Regions from separate parts of the Homo sapiens genome. Here region 1 is linked to region 2. Evidence: promoter capture Hi-C in human tissues and cell types (Jung and others, 2019). All regions are on one chromosome and are shown on one strand. The core of a region is centred on a gene start or on the middle of the fragment in contact, and the rest is flanking DNA. Distances in the headings are between cores, read along the strand shown. Region 1 overlaps GSAP (gamma-secretase activating protein). Region 2 holds the start of FGL2 (fibrinogen like 2).

Region 1 (2,700 bases), core at 154-2,653, 190 kb after region 2:
CAGTCATGTCTCTACCATCTATATGGCCCTAACAAGATGCTAAGGAAGCCAAAGAACAGACCAGAAAAGAGAAGTGTGCTCTGTCCCCAGCCTCCCCACATTGATGACAGTGTAGACGGAGTAGCTTCCTGAGGGTAGGAGAATGCAGCTTGGGAGCTTCAGGCCAGGCCATATCTGGAATTGAGGAGCGACCACAGTGCTGTCAGGAGTGGCGGGGAAATGCGCAGCTGAAAGGACTGGCTGACAGGGGAGGACCCTGGGAAGAGAGAGACAACCCTCTCCCCTAACCCACTGGAATAGGGAGGCCCATAGGGTGGAGGCTGGTAATAGCTTGGGGGACAAAAAGGCAGATACTTTGAGTGGTGCAAATTGACTCTGGCTAGACCAAAAGAAATGATATTTTGACCCTGTAACAAAATGTGAAATTAGGCGAAAGGAAATTATGCTGTAGCACTGTGTGAACACACACAGTTCATTCAAATTATTTGCAGTAGTTATGTTCTGTAAAGTCACCACAAATGTCGTATACTGAATACTGAACCATTGTTTCTAGGGAAATACAAAGGGAGTTGATCATAATCCTGAAAGACACAATCCCAAATGCCATAATCCTAAATATTGAAATCCCAAAAGATCAAAATCCCAAAAATATAATTCTGGAAGAAAATAATTTTAAAAATTATTTAAAAGATGTATTGACATTTTTAAAAGAAGACTTATCTGAGAAGCAAAACACAAAAGAACACTTCATAGTCCACTTTATACAATAAAATAGGCAATAATAACATACACAGTTTTGAAAGTATAGACACTCGTGTATACTAACTATCCTGTGATCATGGCTTTTGGGACTGTAGACTTTTGACCTTTCAGGATTTCAACATTCAGGATTATGGTGTTCAGGATTGTCTTTTGGGATTATGATCCAAACCCAAACAAGGATAAATTCTTGGAAGCCTCTAGTCACAGCATGTTTGTCAACAGATCAGTATATAATTTTGTTTTGTGTGTTTCTATTTAAAGACACTCCTTAACCTCATGGCCAACAGCATAGTAACTCATGCCTGAATGAAGCTTATCTGAAACACATGTTTTCTCCCTAAGGCATCTGACAGCCTTCTTGCACTTAGGAACACTAGACGGTGCCTCAGCGCTATTCCTGGAAGCCGTTTAAACTGTGAAATCGCCAGGAAAAAGCACAAAAATTGAAAGATGGAACTAGGCCATGAAAACAACTGTCATTTTAGTATGAGAGCTAAAGCAAAAAAGGCAGGGCATCACCGTGTTCAACCTCAATTGCGAATGTGCATGTTGGGTGACAAATTCTTTCACCACTCAGCATGTATCTGCAAATAACTGACGAAGTACTATAAGTGTTTAATTTAGGGGTTACAAATAAATTTTAGGAGCAGCAGAATATGCAAATATGGAATCTGCAAATAATGAGGAATGACTGTATCTATGCCACCTACATTATACATGCAGTTTCTGCATCAACTCATGAAGTTGATAAATTCAGGGATTAAGCCATTTAACCATAGATACTTAATCTGTCAACCATGCAAATACATTATATTGACCATTTTAAAGCTTACCTTAAATGTGTTTTAATATTTGATATTTTATCATGAGAAAATATTACATTACTAAGAAACAAACAGAGTTGGTGGAGCTAGCTTCGAGTTCTTAATTTCCATGCTTGCAAACAAAGAGCGGATACTTCCAGCCATAGTAGTCTACAAGACTGTTCTGAGGATTAAATATGATAGAGTGAAAGTACTTTGTAAACCCCAATTCTTCTAGGCTGCATGCCTTTTGATTAATGAGATAAGTGATAAATGGCATGCTTACTTACCTGAACCCAAATATAGCTATCCACAGCCTTTAGAACCTTCACATTGTTAACAGGGTGGATTTCAACCAACAAAGTCAAGCACTTTGATCCTACAGAGAAAAGAAGGCTTTTAGTAACGAAGATTGTAATATCACACATTATTTTTTCCAAAGCAAGGAGTAAGAACAATTTCCGGTAAATCCTACTACAGTGACTATAAACTAATAAAACAATTCTACCACCATCCTAGAGTCCTGTGAGGAGACTGAAACTGTAAATCTGTTCCCAGTTCTACTCTCTAGGATGTGTAGCGGCTCCAGGACCCCAAAAGAGCAATCAGCCCAGCAAAGGACCTGCCTTCCACACCCTCAGGAGCCCTGAAGAAGCTGCATTTTATTATGAAAACCACAGGATACTCAAGAAATGCAAATGTGAAAAGGGAAGTCTTTGAACAGCCCTGGAAACAACAGTAGATACAAGGGAGACAAATTTCAGATTATAAGAATTCTGCATTTACAGAAAAGCATCACATTTAAAACACAAGTGGCTTCTGAATTCAAAGATCACTGTATATTACTTTGCACTCTCACCAGCAACATATAAGAGGGCCTAACGGGTTTCTAATGGATATCATTTTTCCCAATTATCACAATTCTATGATTTGCAAAAGCAGACATGTCTGAACTTTCTGAAAATATAAATATGCTAACTATTGTATTAGCTATTCTACCAGGGGGAAAAAAAGGTGATTTTCTTAAAGTTTGACTTTAAAGTTTGACTTTGACATTTCTACAAATTCAACAGAGACACAGAAAAGATCTCAAGGGAGAAATCAATGTGCACGGAGTGAAGAAGTTGTTTGTACT
Region 2 (2,700 bases), core at 156-2,655:
AGTCAATACCACTGTTAGTTCGTGGGTGGAGTAGGCGATTAAGTCTGTGGAATTTCACATGTATTTATTAAAGTTAATTCAAGTAATTTGGATGGTGAGGATGGGTTCTACTTCTATCTGCTTGAATTCTAACTTCAGGTAAAAGAGAAAGAAATATGAATACCTTCCCTTAGTGGCATGCTAAAACTCTCCCCTTAAAATATTTTTTGTGCCACTAGGTCTCAAAGCAAAAATTTGTGCACACATATGAAACTGCTTTTATTCCATCTGTAAACTCTCCCATTTTCTCCAGATATTTGGGATTAAGAACTAGATTACTTGCTAAAATCTTTCAAAGACCTCTTTAGCCATGAGAAGCGGCAGTCAGTCAATCACAAGAAAAACTGATTTCCAACAAACAAGGCACAATTGTGAACATCGCCTTATCTTTATTGTTTTCAAACACCTCATTGAAGAGACAAGTTAAATGCACTAAAACATCAAGAAATTCTCTCTACTTCTGCTTGCAAGTAGGTCTGGCATTAACAAATAAGATCTTAAAATTGAAAGTGACTTCCAGTGGATACAGAACTAACTATGATTTTTGTAATTAGGTCATATTTATGTGGTCATATTTGAGAAGATATTTATTTTTTCCTGTGCACCTTGATAAATAAAAGACTTAATCTGTCATCTATTTAACTTACTGACTCAGGTTAATGTTTATAGATACTCTCTAGCTGTATAACATTTATGAACATATGATAAGAAAACATTATTATACATACCTGGACGTGACTGTATTTGTTCTTGGCTGGGACACTTTGAACATTTGCCATCCAAACTATTGACAACAAATGTTAGATTTGCCACTTTGCTGTCAACATAATTTTCTATGTTGTTCATATTTACAAGATTCAGCTTCTCCAGGCGACCATGAAGTACATTGATCTCCTCTTTGGCATTCTTTAGCTCAGAGGACAGCTTGTTAACCTCACTCTCTAATTCTCTAACTCTGTTATCACCAACCTCTCCCGGGGCTCCTGTACTGGGTAACAACAGTCCGTTTCTGCCTGGGTCTCCGTTGTCATCAGCCTGCAGCTTGCAGTCTTGGCAAGATTTCTTTAGACTATTTACGATTTCCTTGAGGTTTTGGACTTCTTTGAACACCTCCTCGATCCTGCTGAATTGCTTCGGGAGCTGAATAGTCAAGGGGGGCAGGCTTACCTGGTAGGGGCACTCCCCTGCCTCTTCGCATTTCCCTCTGCTTTCTAGTCTCACTGGGCAGACATCCTTTGCTCTTTCATCTTTAATTTCCTCTGTTTCATTGTTTGCCACAACCAAAAAACCGTAAGTGGCAAGAACAGCTGAGCTCAGCCAGTACCAGTTAGCCAGCTTCATCTTTACAGTGCTGCTCACCCCAGCAGGGAGTGCGCAGGGCTGGAGCTGCTTTAATAGCGGCAGCTGCCTGAGTCAGGCTTTCTGTGTTCCCAGGAAAGGGTGGGAGCGTTTGCATCACAAGTTTTAGAAACGCACAGGAAGAGGAGATAGCCCTCATCAAACGCAGTTTGCCAAAAACTGTAACTTACTCTCAATAGAAATAATATGCATTGAAATTATTATAGTCAAATGTACACAGCCAACAAGATTCACTTTCATAATGTATTTTATGAAGTATAAGAAAAGTCTTGCATTTCTAAAGTAATTTGGTATACTTACGCTTGAAGTAAATAATTATACGTAACTTCACTGGAAAAACAGTTTTTAAAGATAAAAAGTAAGAGCTAGTTATCCAAACTGTCTATAGAACAGAAACGTTACTAAAATGAAAATGGTCCTTTTTCCTTCTTAGAATGGGGCATTGGGGAGCCTGTATTTTCTTCATGTTGGACTTTCAGGTGAAATCTTAAGCACTTTTAGAAGTTTCTAAGTGTAACAAAGTACAGCTTTCTGACTATTGCAGTTGACTTTTGCTTCATCTACTTGAAAAAGAGAAGAAAACTAGTGGAGAAAAAAGTGCTACTTTCTATTCCTTTGTCCGTAGCATAGTGTATATTAATGTCTAAATGTCTAAGACCCATTTAAAAGGACATAATTGTCTTTCATCAAAACCAGTAGCTGCCTCCTTTGCCCTTCGACATTTTGGTAATTGTACTGTCATCTTCCACAGCTGCTCAAATGTGAATCTTTGAGCTATGCCAGTGTCTGTCCTGAACTTCTCTTGCCTACAGCATCTTTGCCCTTTCTTTCTGCAGGTAGCCCTGGCAGGCGGGCCTCTTGCTTTCTGTCTCCACGCTGGTTCTTCTACCTGCTCTCTGGGCCACTTGGTATATCAGCTTGTTCAAAACATGTAGCATTAATGATAATAGTTTTCTAACTTTCTCTTCAGAGGCTGAAGGCAGGAAAGAGGAACAGCTTCAGTTAGAGAAACCACCTCCTTTTAATTTGTTTTGCATATTGACATCTCATAAGATTTCTTGTTTAAAAAGGGTTTTTTTGCTTTAAAAATAATTTCAAAATGACTGACATGGGCAAAAATCTAAATGTTTTATTGTATTACTTAAAACACTCTGTAGCCTATCTCATATTTATGTCTTTAACCTGATTTCCTATGACTTTTCTGTATATCCCCTTAATTTTAGCCAAATCCTATTCACATTCTCAAAATGTTGGCAGACTCTTTACTCTTCCATGACTGTATTTATTCTCGCATACTCAGGA

Evidence for each region. Contacts are between HindIII fragments. The study calls those that stand out against the background at their distance.
Region 1: a contact is called between a fragment that was not itself captured here and the fragment with the promoter of FGL2 in region 2, in 2 of the 25 tissues and cell types used here (hippocampus and thymus).

What each region holds. Positions count from the first base shown.
Region 1 is chr7:77,385,505-77,388,204 of GRCh38, forward strand. GSAP (gamma-secretase activating protein) reads right to left here. Exons shown (of 31, transcript NM_017439.4): 6 at 1,856-1,944. Among named protein-coding and RNA genes, the nearest start is that of GSAP, 29 kb to the right of the region's middle. The HindIII fragment of the contact is 4,778 bases long and covers 1-2,700 here.
Region 2 is chr7:77,198,414-77,201,113 of GRCh38, forward strand. FGL2 (fibrinogen like 2) reads right to left here and starts at 1,406. Exons shown (of 2, transcript NM_006682.3): 1 at 768-1,406. The coding sequence starts at 1,380. All of the region lies in intron 2 of CCDC146 (coiled-coil domain containing 146), which reads left to right. RefSeq lists a silencer at 997-1,106. The HindIII fragment of the contact is 7,307 bases long and covers 1-2,700 here.